Linked DNA regions of Homo sapiens: all the other regions are linked to region 3. The links are contacts of gene promoters, found by promoter capture Hi-C in blood cells and fetal thymus (Javierre and others, 2016). All regions are on one chromosome and are shown on one strand. Each heading gives the region's core, a stretch centred on a gene start or on the middle of the fragment in contact. The rest is flanking DNA. Distances are from core to core; before and after follow the strand shown.

Region 1 (3,879 bases), core at 1,278-3,777, 3.0 Mb after region 3:
CTGTTCGTTCTAAGATGTTTTCTGTATAGACCTTGGATTTTCTACATAGTCATGTCATCTAGAAATAGGGACAGTTTATTTCTCTTTTCTGATCTATATATCTTTTATTTCTTTTATTATTATACTTCAAGTTCTAGGGTACATGTGCACAACGTGCAGGTTTGTTACATATGTATACATGTGCCATGTTGGTGCTGCACCCGTTAGCTCGTCGTTTATGTTAGGTATATCTCCTAATGCTATCCCTCCCCCCTCCCCCCACCCCCCGACAGGCCCCGGTGTGTGATGTTCCCCACCCTGTGTCCAAGTGTTCTCATTGTTCAGTTCCCACCTATGAGTGAGAACATGCAGTGTTTGGTTTTCTGTCCTGTGATAGTTTGCTCAGAATGATGGTTTCTAGCTTCATCCCTGTCCCTACAAAGGACATGAACTCATCCTTTTTTATGGCTGGATAGTATTCCATGGTGTGTATGTGCCACATTTTCTTAATCCAGTCTATCATTGATGGACATTTGGGATGGTTCCAAGTCTTTACTATTGTGAATAGTGCCACAGTAAACATACGTGTGCATATGTCTTTATAGCAGCATGATTTATAATCCTTTGGGTATATGCCCAGTAATGGGATGGCTGGGTCAAATGGTATTTCTAGTTCTAGTTCTAGATCTAGATCTAGATCTAGATCTAGTTCTAGATCCTTGAGGAATCACCACACTGTCTTCCACAATGGTTGAACTAGTTTACAGTCCCACCAACAGTGTAAAATCATTCCTATTTCTCCACATCCTCTCCTATTTCTTTTTTTTGACTTATTACATGAGCTAGAACTTCTACCACTATGTCGATAAGAGTGGAAAGAGTAGGCATCTTTTCCTTGTTCCCCATCTTAGAGAGAAAACGTTGGCTTTCACTGTTATGTTACCTGTAAGTTACTTATTTATGCTCTACGAAGTTGAGGACACTCCCCTCTATTTTTTTTTTTCTGAGTTTTATCATGAATGGATGTTAAATTTTTAAAGTGCTTTTTCTGTATTAAATGATAAAATTATGTGGCTTTTTTTTGTATTTGCCTGGTTTTGGTATCAAGTAATACTGGCTTTATTAAATAAATTTTTCTTTTTTTAAATATTTTAAATTTTCTTAATCTTTTATGTTTTGAGAGAGATGTGGAATAAGTCTTTAAAGGTTTGGTATAATTCTGTAGTGAAACCATCTGTTCCTGGAGTTTCTTTTTTGAAAGTTTAAAAATTTTGAGTTCAATTTCGTTAATAATAACAGGTCTACTCAGACTACTGTATATTGTATGTGTTGTGGTAGTTTGTGTTTTTCAAGGAACTTATTGGTCCATTTCATCCAAGTTTTGATGTAGAAAAATTGTTACATATGTAGAATTTTTATATCTATGTAAAAATCTGTGTAAAATCTCTATATAAAATATTTACATAGATATAGATTATATCTATATAAATCAATAGATATAAAATATCTATATATAGATTATAGATCATATAGATATAGAGTATATAAAATTATATATAGATTATACCTGTATAAAAATCTTTATATGTGTAGAAAAATTTGTGTGTGTAGAGAGTTGTTCATTGTGATCCCTTACTATCATACATTGTATATGTTCATTGTGTATCCCTTACTATGCTTTTGATAGCTGTGGGTCTGTAATAATACCCCATTTCATTCCTGATATGGGTAATTTTTGTCTTCTCTCTTTTTTGTCAGTCTTGTTAGAGAATTGTCAATTTTATTGATCTTTTCAATGTGCTTTGTTGCATTGATTTTTCTGTTTTCAATTTCAGCAGTTTCTGCTCTTATTTACTTTGTCCTGTTTGGTTTGTTTATTTTGCCTTTCTTTTTCTGGGTTCTAGAGGTACAAGCTTAGATTGTTGATTAAGGCTTTTTCTTTTTTCTAATGTGTGTATTTAGCACTATAAATTTCCTTCTCAGTACTGCTTTATTTGTATGTCAACATTTTGATATGTTGTATTTTCATTTAGTTTAATGTATTTTCTGTTTTCCCTTGAGACTTAACTCTCCCATAGATTATTTAGGTGTTTGCTGTTTAGTTTCCAAGTGTTTGGAGATTTTGCCATTAACTTTCTGTTATTGATTTCTAGTTTGATTCCATTGTTGTCAGAGAACACATTCTTTTTTATTTCAGTTATTTTTACTCTGTTAAGGGGTTTATGTCTCCGGATTGGTCTGTCTTGTTTTATGTTTTGTGGGCACTTGAAAAGAATGTGTATTCTGTTGTCTTCGAATGGAGTAGTCTACTAAGTTCAGCTAGATCCTGTTGGTTGATGATGTTAAATTCTCTGTGTTCGTTGAATTCTATCTAGTGTTTCTATCAATTGCTGGAAAAGGGGTGGTGAAATATCCAACTATAATTATGAATTTATTTCTCTTTTCAGTGCTACTTCACACATTTAGTTTTTACTTCACACATTTTGCAGCTCTATTGTTTAACGTGTATAGGATTGCTTAGAATTGTTTAGGATTGCTATGTCTTTCTGATGGATTGACCCTTTTATTATAATATGATTATCCTCTCTGTTCTGATCATTTTCTTTGCTCTGAAGTTGCTCTATTTTAATATCATCTAATGTAGAAAGCCACTTCCTGCTTTCTTTTAATATTTCTGTGAGATATTATTTTCCATTGTTTCACTTTCAACCTGCCTATACTATTTGAAGTTAAAGTTTCTTCTAGACAGCATATGTTTGGGTCATGCTTTTTTTAATCCACTCTGTCTTATTGGTGTATTTAGACTACTCACTGTCATGTAATTATGGATATATTAGGGCTTAAGGCTACCTTGTATTTTACAGTTCAAAAATTTCCATTTGGTTCTTTTTTTGTATCTTATATTTCTTTGTCCTTGGACTTTTTTTTTTTTGCTGAGACTTTATATTTTTTCATTTTTCTATTACGTTTTTAATTACTTGTTGAAGCATTTGTGTGATAGCTAATTTAAAATGTGTCAGATAATTCTGAACATCTCTGTCATTTTGGTGGTTGCAAGTATTGATTGTGTTTTTGCATTCCATTTGAGATCTTGGTTTGACAAGTGATTTTTTAAATTGAAACCTGGATATTTTGGGTAGTATATTATGAAACTCTGGATCTCTGGATCGTATTTAAAGCTTCAGTTTTAGCTAGCTTACTCTAATGCTATTCTGGCAAGAGAAATCAGGGCTGCCACCTTATTACTGCCAGGTACAGGTAGAAATTGAATTTTCTACTCTGCATTCATTAACATCTAAGGAAGGATATCCCTTGTGACTGCTGGGCAGGGATGAGAGTTCTGGGTTCCCACTACGCTTTTACTGATGCTTTCTTGTCTGAAAGGGATAGGAGTGCCTTGTTACCACTGGGTGATGGTGAAAGCCCTGACCCTTCACTAGGCCTCCTCTATATCAACCTAGGGCAGAAGAGGATTGGCTGCTTGTTACTACCTGGCAAGAGCAGAAGTTCATGTTACCTGTGTGGTTTCGATTTCCACCAGCATTGTAGGAGTTGAGAGAGAGGCTTTATTATATCCTGGTAAGGGTGGACATTTTAGGTCCCCATTCAGTCTTTGCTGGCATTGGTGGGAGTTGGGCCATAGTTTTTTCAGTGGTTTTTAACTGGAGTAGAGTGTTTGTTTTCTAAGAGTTTTCTGTTTTGTGAGGCTCCTCCTTTCTTTGTCTTTTGGCTAGAGAAAAGGCAGGGTTTTATTGGGGCTTTTTGTCTGCCCCCATTGGTGTTGCTGGTTACTAGCTTCTTCAGCTCCAAGTTTGGAATATATTAGGCAAAAAGAAACCCAGATAACTCACCACCATGTAGTTCCTCAGGTTTCCACCTTTCAGGGTCTTGTGTTTATTT
Region 2 (3,440 bases), core at 888-3,387, 2.1 Mb after region 3:
ACATTGCAGTACATACCTCTGTGAACAGGAGCCAAAAGCATTCAAGACTAGTAATTCTCACCATGGTTCCAAGCAATAAAAGCTAACATGTATTGAGTATGTGCTAGGAGCTAAGTACTTCATATCATCAATTCATTTAACCTTAATACAAACCTTATTATTTTACTGTGCCCATTTTAAAGATGAGGAAAATAGGAAACAAAAATTTTAAGTCACAAAACTAAAAAAACTCAAAGCTAGAAACCCAGGATGTCTGGTTTCAGGGTGTACTCCTCTAACTACTGTGCTAGACTATGGCGTAGGTCTTTGAGAAGAGGTCATTCCTCTGGTATCTGTTGCTTGCTTGGGGAATATGTAGAATTAGATTTAATACAGTAGAATGCAGACCAAAACTGAGAGTCATGAATGATGTTCATGCAGCCACAGTTTGTGCTCTTGTTCTGATGTGTAGTCTGGCTCACACACAATACTCCATTTCATGTCTTCCAATGTCCAGCTGAATGTCACTAACTCACAAAGTCTTCTTTGTCCTCTCTGCCCTCACCTTCTGGATTGATCTTTCATTTGTGCTGTCATAGCATTCTCTAAAAACCTTTACTTCCTACAGCATTCATGACATGGCATCCTTAGTATCCATTCACTTATGTGACTCACTGTGCTCTGTTCCTTCTAAGGTAGAGATCTTATCTTTCTTATCTTTGAATTCCTGATGCCTAATACAGTGTGTGACAAATAATAGGTTCCTAAGCAACTGCATTAATTAAGCAATCAATTAAATGCCCTAAAAATCCTTGTCTGTCTTGGCACTTGAGTCACTAGGATTGTATTTCACTAACTGGACACTTTATCTAGATGTCCATAAGAAGAATAAACGCAGGGGAATTTTTTCTTTCCTACCTGGAAGTTGGAGGACAAAAAGGCACAACTTATTTCAACTATGATAATGTGATTCACCACTGATCGTGACTGCTTGTAACTAATGTCTTTATTTGCTGCTGGAGTATAAGCTCTCTGAAGGTAGAAGTCTCAATTTTTTCTTGGTCAATGCTGTGTCTCAAGGCCTGAGGCAGTGACTGGCACACCTTGTGTGGAGTGCAGAATAACTCTTAACTAAGAGTCAGAGACCTAGGTTTACATCTTGACCCTGCTTCCAACTTTCCACAAAACCTTGAGAAAACCTTACTCATTCTGGCCTCAGTTTTCTTCCCTTCAAAGTAACAGTCAAGATCAAGAAAATTGTACTTTTCATTTTTTTTGAAGATGTAGACATTGCATGGCTCTAAAGCTATACATTCATGAAGCAGGTGGTTGTGGTGGAATGGTCAAAAATACTCCCTGGTCACTGAGCAATGACCATTGTCAGTGAGATGTAGCCCCTGCTGATTGTACTGTCACTCCAGCTGTCTTTGGAGGTAAATATTAACAGTATACTCATTGGAGAGCAGAGCTGGTGGCAGTAACTGGCTTAGGATTACACAGATGATGGTGACCCATTGACAGGGGAACACTTTAAATTAGATTATCTGTAGAGACCTTTCCAGTTCTCAATATCTCTGAATCTATAATGTATGCAACTGAAATGAGAGATAAAAACAGATTGGAGGTAACTAGAATCCAACCACTGAAATGTTACTTCAAATGGTGATGAGTGAATATGATGCTATTTCTACTTGTTCCAAACTCTCATTTTTCATTTGAAGTCACTCTAAGCTTGGGACAAAGGGAAAAATCCCTACTTCTCTTGTTTGTCTATCATAGATACAATTTACACAAAACTCGAAAAGTACAGGGACACCTGAGCCTTTTCTTTTATTCTGCCTAAAACTTCAAGCTCAGAAAGGCTGAGGCTGGAAAAGCATTCTGGGATTGATATGCAAATGAGAACACCAGGCTTCACACTTGGCAGCTTCATATTCCTGTGAAGTGGAATTTTTTTGCTTTGAAAGCAGTGTTGAAAGATTGCAAGAGGTGTATGTGTGATGTCAACTATTTGTATTCCACTCATGTTTTCTGAAAAGACTCAGGTCTTGAAGACCCGTAACGTGTAGAATAACCATAGCCAAAATTTTCATCAGCTTCATTTCCAGCTGCTCAGCGGTGCAGCTGATATGCAACCTCTGAATGCAGCAGCAGTCATTGAGTTCCTTCCACAGAGCGCTGGAGATAAAACAGCTGCAATGCTCTCCCACTTCTCACACTCCCAGGAGAGGGGAAAGCCATAGAGAAGTGACAAACCAGTCACGAGCTAGTGAACACTAACACACAGCTGCAAATTCTGCAGCCTAAGCAGCATCTGGTGCTATCTTTCATAAGGAGATTGTTGTTTTCATAAACTGAATACTGTTCTCTGAGCATCATGGATAGAAATGTAGGTAAGAAATTTTCGGATAGTGCTTTATTTAGGGCATATTTCCTTAAGTCCCCATACTTTGTAAATATAGTACAAAACCTAAAATATACAACTGCTTTGGAAAAAAGGCAGGTTCAAGTGATAATAGAGAAATATAACTGTAGCCAGGGTCATTATAAAATTTTAATTTGTGTATTAACTGTAGGAAGCTTTGAGATGCCTATTTGTGTTCCAGGCAGCCAATGTGTACATATTTCTTGCAACCTGTGGGGAGCAGGTGAAAAGGAATGTGGTACTTTGCTGCATCTGACCACAGATGCTAAAGAGGTGAAGGACTCTCTACTACCATACCAGGGCACAGCATCCTGGTGATGAGGGGCCAGTCTAGAGTGTTATAACATGTGGCATAATGTAGGCTTGATTTTCTAAAGAAATTATGGAGGCTTAGGAGAATTTCATTATTTTAAAGCTGTATGGTACTGCAGCTCTCCCTGAGAACTCCTTGGAGACACTGCTTTTGAGAGCATAAGACTGCAGTCTAATTGCAAATGGGTCTATTTGTTGAGGAGAGACCTTCTAGGACCAGATGGTAAATGTGAATATTGGGAACTATTTTGAAATGTAAGTGAGCCCTGGGGCTGTGATGGAACAGCCAGTAGGAGAGGGTAGCAAGAGCCATTCAAGGAGACAAGTTTAAGATATTAGTGGGTATCCAAGGTGATAAAGAACACTTCCAGAACATCCAGACCCCATCTGCCTAAGGGATTTCCAGAGAGAGCTCCACGCCAAGAGGATCCCATTCTTAAAGGGAAGATGCATACCCACTCTTCTTGATCAGGAGCACTCTGGAGGAGGGGAGCAGTTCTGCTACCAGAAAAAGGAAGATAGTGACCAGGAGGGCTGGAGATCCAAGAACTTTAGGAAGTGGTAAGGGATGTGAATAACAGCCCCATGAAATTCATCGAGGGGGAGGGGTTGAAGAAGTTGATGAATATCAGAAAGATTTGGAGGTAGACTAATGAGTCCTTTTTATGTTGTTGAAGTAGATATTTTAAAACAGATGAGACTTTAGAAGGTGTTTCAATAATTG
Region 3 (3,705 bases), core at 653-3,152:
TCTTGTCCCCATTACTGAGGTAAATAAACAGAGTCAAGTGGTGGACAGGTTCTGAACAGAACTGATAGTGTCTGGTTATGATGGGGATAGCTAGTTATCTTACTTTCTCACTGCACTCATCAAAAAAACACCACCCACCATGAACAAAATCCAAAATTATAAAATACAACTTGTATTTTTCCAAAAATTACAAGTTTCTTTTGATCTACTTTGGCAAAAGTATAGACATGCTTCTTTGACAAACATGTCTATACTTACTGACAAAGTCATAAGTAACAATCTGTAAGATCAATCTGATCATTACATTTTAAAGAGCATATTTCATAATTACTTCCTATTTTATGGGAGAGTTCCTCCAAGAATATCCAGCAAGGATGCACCATTCCTCCAGAATATTCCACCATTTATTTACCAAATCTTTTTTGTCTGTTACATTCTAGGCACTGTGTTATTCACAACAGTAAACAAGAAAAGCCCCACCCACATAAAATATGTGGGAAGTGCTGTCAGAGGAAAGGCCGTGATGAGAGCTCGCTGAAGTAGGCTTGCAGATTTAGTAAACAAAAATTTTTATTTTTTTAAATTTAGCAAATAAACATATGGATACCAAATATTCCATTGGACAGATTAAAAATTATTTGCTTTTTATCTGAACTTCAAATTTAACTGAGCGTCCTGTTTTTATCTGGCAAACCTACAGGGAAGGGAATACTTGGAAGTGGAGGGAGGGTGAATGGAGATAATTTTGGAAGCCTTCCTTTAGAAAGGAATTTCTAAAAATGAATGCTAGGCATAGCGGAGAAGCAGGGAGGAAACACAGCAATGCAAACTGACTTCCCAGTAGCCACTGTAGAGTTCAGGAACTGAAAGAAGCAAAGGGAATGGGGTAAGGAAGAAGAAATGTGGGTATAATGTCGAGAGATGAAGGTTGAGGGAAAAGTAGGTGCCTTATTTTTCAGGTTCGATAAGGAGTTTGTACTGTATCACCAGTGGTGAGATTCCACTAAAAAACTTTAAGCAGCTCATTTTGGCTACAACGTGAAGAATGAACTACAGTCCGGCAGACAGGATGTTGGGAGACCAGCTAGGAGGCTACTGATGGAATTCAGGTGAGTCCACAGAGGCCTGGACAGAGGCAGCGGGAAGAAAGGTGCACTAATCACAAACACCTGAACGTGAGACGGCAGAAAATAAGCAACTGCAAACTTGAATATAGAGGAGGACTGGGAGAGAAGAAAGCAGAAGCACATATTTGGGGAAACAGTGAAGAATGGTAAAAAAAAAAAAAAAAAAAAAAAAAAATTCAAATGTCTTCTGGGAAGTATATAGTATGATAAGGACTAAGAAGTGACTCCTAGATTTAGCCATAAGGAAGTCACCAGCGACCTTTGGCACGGGCAGCCTTAGAGGAATGGCTGAGGCCAATTAGGTCGCAGCTGGTCGAGGAGAAGGTGATGCTGGCCTAAGAACCCGACTGGAGCAGCACAAGTTTCCTACTTCTTCTTTGCCCTTTTAACAGGTGAGGGTCAAGGACAAGAGACGAGTTTGGAGATGCAGCGGCCAGTGCCCCAATCAGTTGGAACAGCGCAGCAAGCGGATCTCTAGGGGCCAATCCCTTCCTAGAGTCCACTTGACTGACAGAGCTGCGCGCCACAGACGGGGCACAGACAGGGAGGTGAATCACGAGGGGGCGGAATTCCAGGGCACTAACCCGGAACCGGTTTGGGACTTGATTCCCATTGTGAGGCCAGGCCTAGGGCGGGCTCTCAGCCAGAATGGCTACACCATTCTAACCAATGGATGAGACTCATCAAATGAGCGGCAGCCATATGAGCCATTGGGGTGGCGGGAGATGGGCGGGCCCAGTTAGTGGGCGGGGGATCAATGAAGCATCTTTTTTCCTACCCCCCTTGGGGCGACCGTGGGGAGGTGCCGCCGGGGTCGCAGGTGAGCGGTTCTATGCTGGAGGAGGCGGCCAGGGAAGCGGCGGCTCCGTGACCAGTGGGTGCCCTCGCAGTGGGTAGGGTCCCGGAGGGGTCAGCGGCAATTGGCGCAACGCTTGCTGCCGGGTTTGGTCCAAGGGCTGCGACGTAGCGGGACTGCACGCTCGGGAGAAGTGCCACGCGCGTCTGTCGCCTGACCGGGGAGGCTGGGGAGGGCCCAGGCCACGGAAACAAGACTGCAGAAGTTTCTGGGCACTCAGTCGGGACTCTCATTTAATACCCAGAGAGAGGAGATCTTCCAGGTTGCCCCGACTCCCACCGGGACTCCTACCAGCAGCAACCTCATCATTGTGGCCGAGGCAGGTGCGCGCCCCTGCTCCCCTGGGTGGCCTTCCGGGAGCCCAGTCTAACTCGATTCTTCCCAGGGGCTCTTTTTGGACGGTCCCAAAGGAGGCAGCGGGAGGGAGGTGAAAGATACTTTGATAACCGTCGACCCATAAGTATACTTGTTATGCACCTACCACGAGTTTTAGAGAAGAACATACTTTTTGGCAGGGAAGTGAATCCCCTATAAGAATATAGGGGAGGGGAAAGCCACACTTTAAAGAGAATTTGGGTAGGGTTTGATATTGTAGATTTGTGATGCTTTTCTTCTTGAACTGCTTAACTAATTTACCCTCAAATTTTTTTGATCCGGAACTTGCCGTCTGGTTTTTCTCAGACTTCTTAATTCTGACTTATCATGAAGTATCTAGGAACTTCATTCTCAAGTTTTAGTGCTTGTAAAAAGTTGCCTGGTTATATTATGCCATTGGCAGTACATCATCTTCACAAGGATTACGTAAGTGAACTACATCTCATTCCTGTTTCCAACTAGTGAAGAACGATTGTGAAATGGGATTTTAGAAAATGGCTGTTCTCTGTGATTGGGCATAGAAGGTTTGTAAGTTTTAGAGACTGCAGCTGTTGAATCCTTTCTGCTAAGAGAGCGATGACAGGCAATAGAAAAGGGATAGTGTTTGACATCTAAAATGACATATTTTCACATTTTATGAGGTGTTATATCCCCAGCACCAAAAATAGTGCCTTTCACACAGTAGGAGCTCAGTAAGTATTTTTTGAGGAAATTATTGGGGAATGAATGGATGGTAGAAAACCCAAGCTTCTGTTACTTGGATACCGGCATATAAAGGAGAGGACAGGAAGACAAACATTTCTGGAAATGGCTTTTATCCAGGTAAGCATATCTACAGAACTTCAACAACTCAAGATGCATCAATGCTGGCACTTTCTTGCACTTAATCAGAAAATATCAAGGTTTTAGAAGAAGATTTTCACACAATTAAGCCAAGACTGGGTATCTAAGGTGCATCCCAATATCAATTTCAGTCAGGTTAAAAATGTATTAAAGCCCATTTGATTAAATGAAATAGTTCATCAGTTCAGAATAGATCAGTCAGGACAACGGGATACCACTTTGTAAGTTAGAGATATGGAGTTAGGAATTGTTGGTCAAAAATAGGCCCTGCAAATAGCAACAGCTGCTGTCAAACTTTAAAAATATATTGACTCAGTGGTACTTCAAAAGGACTGCTATTTCTACCATGTACCAATACATTTACAACAATGCGATTTCTAAATTGATCTCAGATTCTAAGAGCAAAATCTTACGGTGGATATCTGCATAAATTTGGACTCTCGACAACTTCAATCATTTTTATTATATACTTATATTGGTTATATATTTATATGTTACTACAGT
Region 4 (3,871 bases), core at 1,166-3,665, 2.9 Mb after region 3:
TATCTGTTACAGGCCTGCTATGTGTTAGTGCTGTGTACTGGGATGAGGGTCAGGACTGAAGATTGTGGGTAGACTAAAAATTTGTTGCCAATTTAGGCTGATATTTCTTTAAATATATATTCGGTATATATTTACTGGGAGGGAAGAACTCATTTACTATTAATAAAACGTGTAAACAAAGATTCATTTATTTACATCTATTGGCTAAAGTAGTATTCTGGAAAATAAAAGGTACACAATAAAACATTTTTGTATTTGATATTGTGGAAAACACAAAGTACATAATAAAACATTTCTATTCAATATTCTCTTTTTGAAATTTTTCTGAACTAACATTTTCTGAAACTTTTGGGGAGACATAGTAAAAGATTTAAACCCCTCAGTTATAATTGTACAACACATTTACTTTTTAACAATTATCATTTAGCCATCCACTTCTACTAGAGATGCAATAGTAAGAAAATAAATAGACTGATATTAATACAGTGTGATAAATACTATATTCAGAAGATACACTGTGAGAGTTCATAGGAGGGATATATAACCCAGCTTTTAAAGTGTCATGGGAGTTTTCTAGAGGAGCTAACTTAACCTCAGCTAAATCTTGTAACTGGTGGATGAAGAGCCCTAGGCCCAGGATGGGGTTGTGTTTTAGAGGCGAAAGTCAAAGCCAGCCAGAGATGGGGCTGAAGAGTTAAGCAAATATATGCAAAAGAACACTTATACTATCTCATAAATATATATGGAATTTTTTTCCCCTTAGAATAGTTTTGTTTTTTTGGAGTTATTGATTTTAAAGCTTTTTTCTTTTCCTTTTCCTTTTTTTTAACCTGCTTCACTTTTTTTTCTCCTTCTTTTAATCACTATCATTCTCAAAATGTTTGTTTAAAATGGAAGTGTATATGTAGCTATTGCCTTATATTTAGTGCTCATCCACATTAAGGTCTAAAGTAGTATACTTTGAACTTGAGGTATAAGTTTAGGCTAATTGTATGGAATGTGAGACTATTTTGAAAGGGGGGCAGTAACTTTACTGTTGGAATCAGCTGAGTGATCCCAAAGTACAATTTTAAAATTGTTTAGTAACAGAACAGATTCTTTCTAGACCAGAAATAAATGCTATTACTGGCATCCCAAGACAACCACTAACCCAATTTAAATGAAGGGAATTCATTTCTTACTGACCTCCATTTAAAATGTTGACCCATTATCCCAAATGCCAGTTTTACTGGTATGAATGATATATAATCAAAAGGTCACCCATCTTATTTCACTTATAAAGGTTACTAGATACAATAGAAATAGAAAATATTTGCCTCAACTAGGAACTTTCCTAGGTAGTGTAAGATTCTAATTAAACATTTGTTTACTATATTAGCATTTTTAATAGCCAACATAATAATTGCATTATTCCAGGAATTGTCCCAGGTATATTATTTTTTCTTGTGACTGTTCTATTAAGTAGGTAGTATTATCACCACCTCCCACTACGACTTTATTTTTTGAGACAGGGTCTCACTGTGTCGCCCACGCTGGAGCGCAGTGCTGTGATCATGGCTCACTGCAGCCTTGAGCTCCTGGGCTCAGGCCATCCTCCCACCTCAGCCTTTCTAGTAGGTGGGAATATAGGCATGTGCCACCACGCCTGGCTAATTTTTTAAATTTTTTGTAGAAATGGGGTTTCAGCCGGGTGTGGTGGCTCACGTCTGTAATCTCAGCACTTTGGGAGGCCAAGGTAGGCAGATCACGAGGTCAGGAGATCGAGACCATCCTGGTTAACATGGTGAAACACTCTCTCTACCAAAAACACAAACAATTAGCCGGGCGTGGTGGTGTGCGCCTGTAGTCCCAGCTACTTGGGAGGCTGGGGCAGGAGAATGGCGTGAACCCAGGAGGCGGAGCTCACAGTGAGCCGAGATAACACCACTGCACTCCAGCCTGGGTGACAGAGTGAGACTCTGCCTCAAAAAAAAAAAAAAAGAAAAAGAAAAAAAGAAATGGGGTTTCACGATGTTGCCCAAACTGGTCTCCAACTCCTGGGCTCAAGTGATCTAATTGCCTCAGCTTCCCAGAGTGGTGGGATTACAGGCATGAGCTGCTGTGCTTGGCCATACCCTCATTTTATAGATGAGAAAACTGAGACTTAGATTAATTAATTTGCCCAAGATCATATAGTGACAAGAGCCAGGATTCAAACCCAGGTCCTTCTGATTCTAAAGTCCATGCTTTTAACTACTATGCTTTTATGTATTTTTTATTTAAATTTTATAATGTTTATATATAGTTATAAACATTTTATTATAATAGATATTATTTTATGTTTATTTTTTATTTAAGCTAATTTTCACTTTTGCAAAGAAAATATTGGTACTCTTGGTTAATTTCTGTCATCCATTCAATAAATATTGAGCACTTGTTTTGAGTCAGGCACTGTGCTGAGTGCTGGATATATAGTGCTGAGCAAGTCAGACAAGATCCCTGCCTTTGGGGGACTTGCCTTCTGGTGAGGAAGACAGTCAGTAAACAGGTATGTAGGCAAGATAAGTACAGATTGTGGGGAGTTATAAGGATAATAAATATGGTGAGGTTCAGGAATAGAGAAGAAAGAAGGGTTAGATGGACTTTCAGATAGAGTGATTAGGGAAGGCCTCTCTGTGGAGACCACTTTGTGCAGAGACCTGATTAGGGAGGAACCATTTGTTTGCCAAATAAACAGTAACTGTTCTGTCTTGAAATGGGTATGTCCGTATTAAAATGAAGCCAATAATTTTGCCTACTGAGAATAATACATGTAAAGCCCTTAGCACAATACCTGGTATATAGTCAGAACTCAAATGTTATTATTATTAAAACAGTAATAGCATTACAGCATCAGATTTACTGGTTGTGTGTTTTTTACAGTGTTCCAAAATTAATGACTCTTACGTAGCTCATGTTGAAGGTGCTGTGTCACTGAGAATTTTTTTTTTTTCCCCCTAAGCATCTGTTATGGCTGGCATGGTATTAGGCCTTGCAGATATAGCTAGGAACATTCCTTTATGGTTATAAAGAAATCAGGAAATTGATGGTGTTTTTCTTTTAGTTTTGAAAATATCACTAAACTTGTTACTATGGTATTATGTGTGATAAGGCTGTTGGTTTTGTTCTTTCACAAGACCTCATTCTTGAGTGATATTTAAATTAATGATTCAGTAATATACTGGCCTATGGTAATTGAAAACATGGAAAGTGAAAGGGCAGTTTTAAAGTCTCATAGAGTCAAAAAATAAGGTTGGAATTGCATAGTCCTAATATAGTACCTAGCTGGTGGAGTAGAGTGAACTCATAGTATGAACAAAATCATTTCTATAGCTTCTTCAATTGAGTGGAAACCTAGTTGTCCAAAAGAGTTAATTAAATTTAGCTCCAGAGGTTTTACCCAGAGAGTAGTTTTATTAGAAAGATTGGAAGCAATGGTATTGGAAGGATTAACATTTTGCAGTCCGGGGAAAGCACATTAGTTACAGACCTCGCTTTAGACTTAGATCTGTTACTATTTACATCACTTTGGCAAAGTCAGTTAACATTTACAGACCTTATCTAAGTTATAAGGTATTATATCTCTATGTAATCTCATTTGACTTGCTTCTAACCAAATTTTAATTAGTAATCACCAAGTAATCCTCCAGTTTCTAGGGGGGCTATACTGATATTTCTTTTTTATTTTTTATATTTTTTGAGACAGAGTCTCGCTCTGTCACCTACGCTGGAGTGCAGTGGCGCAATCTCGGCTCACTGCAACCTCTGCCACCTAGGTTAAGTGATTCTCCTGCCTCAGCCTCCTGCGTAGCTGGGATTACAGGCACCTGCCACCACGTCTGGCTAATTTTTG
Region 5 (3,833 bases), core at 1,292-3,791, 2.1 Mb after region 3:
TTGTTCAATTCTCTAAAATCCCAGAACACAATCAGAAATAGCTCAGGCAGACACTAATAATTAAGAACGCTCTTCCTCTTCATAACTGCTTTGCAAGTTTCCTGTGAAAACATCAGTTTCCTGTACCAAAGTCAAAATGAACGTTACATCACTCTAACCTGAACAGCTCACAATGTAGCTGTAAATATAAAAAATGAGAGTGTTCTACCCAGTTTTCAATAAACCTTCCAGGCTGCAATAACCAGCAAGGTTTTCAGTTAAAGCCCTATCTGCACTTTTTATTTATTAGCTGAAATGTAAGCAGGCATATTCACTCACTTTTCTTTGCCTTTCCTGAGAGTTTTATTAAAACTTCTCCCTTGGTTACCTGTTATCTTTTGCACTTCTAACATGTAGCCAATAAATCTATTTGATAGCCATCAAAGGAATAAAAAGCTGGCCGTACAAATTACATTTCAAAACAAACCCTAATAAATCCACATTTCCGCATGGCTCATTCACCTGGAATAATGCCTTTTATTGAATATGTTCTTATAGGGCAAAACACTTTCATAAGTAGAGTTTTTTATGTTTTTTGTCATATCGGTAACATGCAGCTTTTTCCTCTCATAGCATTTTCTATAGCGAATGTAATATGCCTCTTATCTTCATGAAAAATAAATATTGCTTTTGAACAAAACTACTCCATTATTTAGTACTCAATTGCAGTTTTAAAAGGTGTACACTGCTAAAAAAGAAAAAAAAAAAGAAAAGAAAACTTCCAGCTGGACGCGGGGGCTCAAGCCTGTAATCCTAGCACTTGGGGAGGCCGAGGGGGTGGATCACACGGAGATCGAGACCATCCTGGTCAACATGGCGAAACCCTGTCTCTACTAAAAATACAAAAATGAGCCAGGTGTGGTGGTGGGCGCCTTTAGTCCCAGCTACTCAGGAGATTGAGGCAGGAGAATCACTTGAACCGGGAGGCAGAGGTTGCAGTAAGCCGAGATCACGCCACTGCACTCCAGCCTGGGCTGCAGAACAAGACTCCTTTCAAAAAAAAAAAAAAGGAAAACTTTTTTTCACAAATGCATCAAACTGTTTGGAATGACAAGATTGAGTGATTTCTGAAGGCTTCATTTTATAATGCCCGAAAGAACAACACTTTGTTCCCCAATTACAGGCTTCTGTTCTGTCTTTGTCCTGCAGCTGCACAGTGGGGCAAGACTTGGGTTTGGTTTTGTTGCTGCTTTGTTGCTTCTTCATTTGACTGTTTCCCCATGAGTCTTATAATGAATTATGTTCTCCTCTGACATTGTTCCTCACCTAAGAAAATCCACAGCTGTCTCTTCCTTGAGGCCTGAAGTCAACAACATTACAACCTCATTTCCCTTTTATCCACCTCCTTTTCCCATCTGGGTGGACACCCCAGCCAACTAGTGATTCAGTGTTATCAGTTCAGACAGACCAGTTTAGGAGCTACACTCCTATATCATTTGCTTTGTAATTTGTGAAGAGGCACATAGCATAAAGAGAGCTCTTCTAGCTGCAATGCACATGCAAGAATTTTTGCTTTTGATTATAGCCTAATCTTTATATCATCCTGCTGGAGACAAAATAGCAGCTGCAGTGTTGAATGAAACTCTGCCATTTTAGTGGTTTTAGGTCATTTGGGGAATGGGAGTAAAGACCTGTATTCTGTGGCAAGAATTAATTTTACCATCAGAAATACTAGCTAGTGTGTGAGCATGGGAGAGGGATGGGGACAGGGTCGAATAATTCTGTGCCTAATAGCTAATTCAAGTAACTGGGGTTTTTAGGTAAAAAGTCATAATAGTAATATATATATGTATATATATGTGAATATATGTGTATATATGTATGTATATATGTTGCATTTTAATACAAAGACATTAAGAATTTTATTTCATTTCCTGAAATGTTCACATGTCCAGTTTTATTCTGAGAATAACTCAACAGATGTCTAAATTGTTGATACTCTCCTAGGTTCCTCATAGAATATTAAATTAAAATTCAATAGATTAGTATTCATGCCTGAAGTCCTAGGAAATATAATTTTGTTTATTGGCAGCCCTAGTCAAACATGCTAGAAGACAGAATATTTATAATTCACTGGTTTTATTGACATTCACTCAAATTCTGTTGTTTTTAAAGATCAAGTTAAAGACTACACAGACCTTCAAAACTTAGCATAGCACAACTGGGATATCTCTCAAATAAAATAGGCATCAACAAGGGATAAGCAACTAACCACTTAATGTAAGACTTTATGCTTGCTTTTCCAGTTATATTTCTGAATTTTGCAAACTAATTTGTGTCCTTTTTTTGAATAAATTTCATTTCTATAGAGATGTCTAAAAATTATTTAGCAGACTACATTAAAAGAGAGTGGAGCTAACTTCTTAACATAGGTTAATATACTCAGTGCAACAAGCTGTGGACCAAGAAATCTTCATTTTCTAGCAAAATCATTTGACTTTGTGATTATTTTAAACTGTTTATACTTATTGCCAGGTTTAGTGACCAGAAACCAAATGTTAAAATCATTCTTGGATTCAATTTACATTTTAAATAATACCTACAATACAAGTTCCCTTTTAAGAACTAAGGTCTCTAACCTGTTTCTGGTTGAGGTCATAGTATAAATTTCTCCTCTTCAGGCCTTCTAGTGTCTTTCTAGACTTTCCTTTCTCCCTGTGTCTCCCACAGGCTTCCTTTCTCACCTGCCTCTACTTGTCAGTCTTCAAATCAGAGAAAATCAGGATCAATATCTGCTTTGGGAAAGACAGGAGATAGATCAGTCGAGGAGATCAACTGCATGGTTACCCAAGTGAGCAATTAATAGGGTAAAATTCCCAACTGCTTTAAGAAATCACTGCTTTTTGAGAGTCAAACACATCAGGTGCATATTTTTCAGTACTGTCCACTTTGGTGCAAACTTCAGGATATGGTGGTAGATATTTGTTGACTTCTGTCAATAGAAATTTAGCCACAGTCAATATGGGGAAAATTGACTAAATTACATGTTTCATTCATTCATTCAACAGCAAATACATTAAAGCCCGCTATGTATCAGACATGCTTTGAGGCTTGAAACACAAGATTCACAACAGAGGATAAAACTAGAGAAAGATATTCTAGGTAAGATCAACAGGAAGAACAAAGGTCTCCCAGCAAAAATGCATAAGGTAAGTGTGGGCAGTTCAGAAAATATAAAGTGATCGAAAGGAAAGAAAAGGAAACTGTAGGCAAATGAATTTAGTCTTTTACATTTAGTAAAGGAAGCTCCATGAGGACCTCTGAGCACAGTGGGGGCTGTATGTGTCATAGAGCACCAGACAGAAAGTTAGAAGGTCTTGGTTGTAGTGACTAGCCTGCCACTTTCTAAACCTATGTTTCCTCATTTACACACTCAGATATGTAAGATGTTCTGGAGGTGTCTTCCGGCAGAACAATTCTGCAATTCTGCATTTTCGAAAATGGGTCTACAGAAAGAGTAGGGATTGGGCTATGAGTTATGAGGCTCCTTGAAGTTCTAGGGGTGAGACAATAAGGATAAAGCGAGACTTCAGAGACAGGAAGGGAAGTTTGCCCCTGTGGTTGTTCAGGCTGTGCACTACAAATCTCTAGGGGTTGCTATTTGCATGAACTAAGATGACAAGACAGGTTAAGAGGTTTCAAAGTTCTTTGTGGTTGGATGGGCTGGAGGTGCAGGCTTGGAGATCTCCTGTAGGAAGAAGTCATGTGAGTTCAAGAGAATTCTTGTGGGAAAACCAGGGAGGCAGGAAGGAGGGGTGAATTTTGCAAGCATGTCTCCAAGAAGAGGAGCCAGG
Region 6 (3,634 bases), core at 447-2,946, 2.8 Mb after region 3:
CAATTCAATTCCCGGAAAGACATCTTTTATCAGTGCATCAAACCGGGTGCAATCAGTAAACGTAAACTTTGACATGGTATTAAGCCTCAGTGCTTGTACCACAATATGACTTTCATTAGCTAGAAAAAAGTTTCATTTTAAAATTATTTATTATTACTTTAATGATGAAAAAAGTTTTTAAATATTCTATAGCCTTGATATGCATTATTAATCATTAAATGCACTAGAATTTAGTAACATTTAAAGACATTACATCACATGAATTGGCAAGCTTACTTTAATATCTTTTGACTGCTAAAAAGTAAATATCACTAAGTACAGTTATAAACTCTTTCCCATAGAATTCAGATCACAGGGTACCAAGACTTTAATTAATAATAAAAATCATTATCACTAATATTTGCATAGTACTTCACCTTTTATATTATATGATGTAATCCTTTTAACAACCCTATAAAGTAGGTTAAAAAGTATTACTATTGTTATTCCAATTTTACACATGAGAATGTTAAGTCTCTGAAGGTTTAAGTGACTTTCAGAAAAGGCACAGCAATATTACAGCTAAGATTCAATTCCAGATAAACTAATTCTAAATTCAGGTGCCTCTCCAAATATACCAATATCGTCTCACAGTTTATGTCCTAAGATAAACAACTAACAAACTGCGCAACAATCTTTGATCAGCCTTGTTCAAATTTGGTTCACAAACCCATTCTTAAGCCAAATGCAAATACTGATACCACTGCCAGACTCTTATTTTCACAGATATTAGCTGCTGATTGGTAAGATACATAAAGTCAAAGAAACTATTTGCCTGGCATTTCCTCTATAATTGCTTAATATTTCCATGCTTAAGTACACATAAAAAGTCTGGACTTCTCTAAAGCTTATTTCAAGCACTGAACTCATAAGCCATCTTTACTTATTACAGGTATGGTTTAAATATTTCTTAAAAATCACCAAATATAGACAATTAAAAAATAGTAACATAAACACTCACAAAATAACTATATCTACCCAGGCATACGCCAACCTAATAATACAGCTAATGTAGATGCCATTTTTAAGAGACACACTTTGATCATTTAAAGTCCAAAGAGGTAATTTCATGTGGTCCTTTTTTCTATGTTGTCTCTACTTTCATAGTGTTTTAACTTAGTTTTCAATAGCAACCTGAAGAAACTGATTATTCAGCCTTTCATGAACGTATACCTCCACAGGTGGGGGAAATCATTATTTTTATGTGAATAAAAAACCATTTTTTTATATGAGGAAAGTATAGCACATATATATGAGTCTGTATTGAGCTAAATAAATGAGTTAATGAATACATAAATGAGGCAGAAAAGATAAATCTTCATTACAGAAGAATTTCAAATAATATATGAAGATACTACCCCCCACCCCACCCCACCCCCCCAAACCCCGCAAGGAGTGGAGCTTAATCCTTTCCTTGCCACTCTGAGAGTAAGCTAGATTTATTAACATGATTCCAAAGAATAAAGCCAGGAGGGTAGAAAATAACTTCACATTGGAGAAACCTGGCAACACTACCATAGCCAGGTGATGAAGGTTAACATAACTAGTGATGTCATATGGTTGTTATATACCCACTGATATGACGCAGTAAGAAAGACACTCCACCTCTGCGGTATTCTTTCCAAACATTTATAACCTAGTCTAATCATAATATACTAGCTTTAGAAAGAGAAAATCCTACATGTGTTTCTAAGGTTTCTGTTCTTGTTTCAAGACAAGACAAATTATCAGGCTCTACTCTACACCTACTGAATCAGGACCTTTGGGGGTGGGGTCTAATAATCTGTTTTAACAAGCCACTGGGTGATTCCAATGGACATTGAAGTTAAAGAACAAGTGGACTTTACATATTACAACTATTTAATATTTAACACACATTAAAAGTTATAAGACGTCAGGTAAAAACTGGAGAAAACCTGAATAAAGTAGGAAATTTAGTTTAAAAACAATGTATCAAAGTTGATTCATTAGTTGTGACAAATATACCACACTAATGAAAGATGTTAACAACAGTAGAAATTGGGGCAGGGTATACAGTAATCCTTAATATTGTATCTACAACTTTTCTGTAAATCTCAAACTATTCTAAATTAACGCTTATGTTTTTAAAAATAAGTTAATGTATTTGGAATAATCAATCATACCATTCTGTGTAGTGCCACTTTTGTTTAGCTGTCTAAGGAGATTTCCACTTCCTCTCAGAACTGTCTTCAAAGCTCTCAAACCCCAATCATAATGTTGCTGAGGTGTCAAAAGTTCCCTGAAATAGAGACATGGAAATCAACACATCAAATAGCTAGAAGAAATTACTTTCATCATAACATCCAAAGAAATACAGAATATAACACTGACACATAGAAATGAATGTTGATATCCCATTAATTTATATAAGGGAAGCAACCACACAAAATAATCATTCAAGTAAGCTGTTAAAGATGGACGGTTCTCAAGGGTAGGATAAAGCTTTTATGAACAAGCTAATTATCTTAATGAAGACACCAAATGACAATTACCTGTTACCCTAATGCCTAAAGCCTTTAATCAATCCATCTTGCTCTCAATCTCTGACACTGTCTAGTTCACCATTATCTCTTAAGTGATATGGAAGAGAATTGTACATTGTCCCAAAGAAGCTAAATGTCAGTTTCTATTACTAGAAATAAGACATAAGAAAAATTGTGAAGGATTCTTTCCAAAGAACAGTAGTTTGTGAGTGGTCAGCTGATAAATTAGTTCAGTAAGAATCATTTAGCTGAAGCACTCTAATATAAACATTTTGAAGAAAAAAAACTGATCAAATTAATAATATTTAAGAAAAGCAAGTAGTTTTGAACCAATATTTTTATGTGCATGCTAAAGCCTTTCATAGCTACACTATAAGTACAATAAAATCATCAGAATAAAAATCATGCAATAGGTGAATTGAGAAAATATGAAAATGATCACTAATAACCAAAATCAATCATTAGAAATGTAAAATATAAAAATATTTAGAACAAGAAAACTCACCTAGATAGATTGAAAATAGCTACCAATTTTCTGCTCAATACTTTAGCGTCTTTAAAGCCTTCCGAATAGAGAATAACTTCTGCAATAAGCTCATTGTCTGGATGAGACATAGCTACGGGCCTGAAAAGCTGTTTAAGATTATCAGGCAGTTTTTGTCTTCCTCCATAACCTTTTCCAGCAGGATTCATAGTGATAAAAATTCCAGAATTAGAATTTACTTCTACCTGAAATATTAATTAAAAATATTAATTTAAATATTAAATATTAAGTTAAAATATTTAACATATAGGCATCGTTTATATTTGAAACTATAAACATAAAATATGCTGCCAACAGAATTTTATTGTGACATATTACTACACATAAATCTTATACCTTAGGTAAAGGTAACCTCCAATGTACTAACCATCTCCTTACTCAATATATGATAAATTCCTTAAGACCTACACTGCTTTGCAGAGTTTATTTACAATCAGTTTTTTGAGGCTGAATGTTTAAGAGATACTAATTTCATTATCTATTTATACATTAAATATATGTTTACTAAAAGCCTTCTTAGTACTAAACACTTTGTTAAGTACACAGA

What was found. The method cuts DNA at HindIII sites, captures the fragments that hold promoters and counts their contacts. A CHiCAGO score of 5 or more calls a contact.
Region 1: a fragment that was not itself captured here is called in contact with the fragment with the promoter of MSANTD4 in region 3 in 6 of 17 cell types (activated CD4 T cells, total B cells, naive CD8 T cells and 3 more); the score reaches 9.7 in activated CD4 T cells.
Region 2: a contact is called between a fragment that was not itself captured here and the fragment with the promoter of MSANTD4 in region 3, in 2 of 17 cell types (M0 macrophages and M1 macrophages). The highest score is 6.4, in M0 macrophages.
Region 4: a fragment that was not itself captured here is called in contact with the fragment with the promoter of MSANTD4 in region 3 in 1 of 17 cell types (non-activated CD4 T cells); the score reaches 6.1 in non-activated CD4 T cells.
Region 5: a contact is called between a fragment that was not itself captured here and the fragment with the promoter of MSANTD4 in region 3, in 1 of 17 cell types (M0 macrophages). The highest score is 6.4, in M0 macrophages.
Region 6: a fragment that was not itself captured here is called in contact with the fragment with the promoter of MSANTD4 in region 3 in 2 of 17 cell types (total CD8 T cells and naive B cells); the score reaches 6.4 in total CD8 T cells.

The regions. Positions count from the first base shown.
Region 1 is chr11:103,069,147-103,073,025 of GRCh38, reverse strand. All of the region lies in intron 4 of DCUN1D5 (defective in cullin neddylation 1 domain containing 5), which reads left to right. Among named protein-coding and RNA genes, the nearest start is that of DCUN1D5, 21 kb to the left of the region's middle. The HindIII fragment of the contact is 1,266 bases long and covers 1,895-3,160 here.
Region 2 is chr11:103,885,928-103,889,367 of GRCh38, reverse strand. The region is part of intron 3 of PDGFDDN (PDGFD downstream neighbor); the gene reads left to right. Among named protein-coding and RNA genes, the nearest start is that of PDGFDDN, 19 kb to the left of the region's middle. The HindIII fragment of the contact is 849 bases long and covers 1,713-2,561 here.
Region 3 is chr11:106,020,437-106,024,141 of GRCh38, reverse strand. It overlaps MSANTD4 (Myb/SANT DNA binding domain containing 4 with coiled-coils), which reads left to right and starts at 1,902. Exons shown (of 3, transcript NM_032424.3): 1 at 1,902-3,180. RefSeq lists enhancers at 1,361-1,430, 2,261-2,380 and a silencer at 1,821-1,930. The HindIII fragment of the contact is 3,155 bases long and covers 1-3,107 here.
Region 4 is chr11:103,085,283-103,089,153 of GRCh38, reverse strand. All of the region lies in intron 2 of DCUN1D5 (defective in cullin neddylation 1 domain containing 5), which reads left to right. Among named protein-coding and RNA genes, the nearest start is that of DCUN1D5, 4.9 kb to the left of the region's middle. The HindIII fragment of the contact is 3,227 bases long and covers 802-3,871 here.
Region 5 is chr11:103,904,035-103,907,867 of GRCh38, reverse strand. It overlaps PDGFDDN (PDGFD downstream neighbor), which reads left to right and starts at 998. Exons shown (of 4, transcript XR_947960.3): 1 at 998-3,188. It overlaps PDGFD (platelet derived growth factor D), which reads left to right. Exons shown (of 7, transcript NM_025208.5): 7 at 1-679. RefSeq lists enhancers at 3,138-3,307, 3,728-3,817. The HindIII fragment of the contact is 6,449 bases long and covers 1-3,833 here.
Region 6 is chr11:103,172,720-103,176,353 of GRCh38, reverse strand. DYNC2H1 (dynein cytoplasmic 2 heavy chain 1) reads right to left here. Exons shown (of 89, transcript NM_001377.3): 35 at 3,049-3,272; 36 at 2,184-2,299; 37 at 1-119. Among named protein-coding and RNA genes, the nearest start is that of DYNC2H1, 65 kb to the right of the region's middle. The HindIII fragment of the contact is 1,616 bases long and covers 889-2,504 here.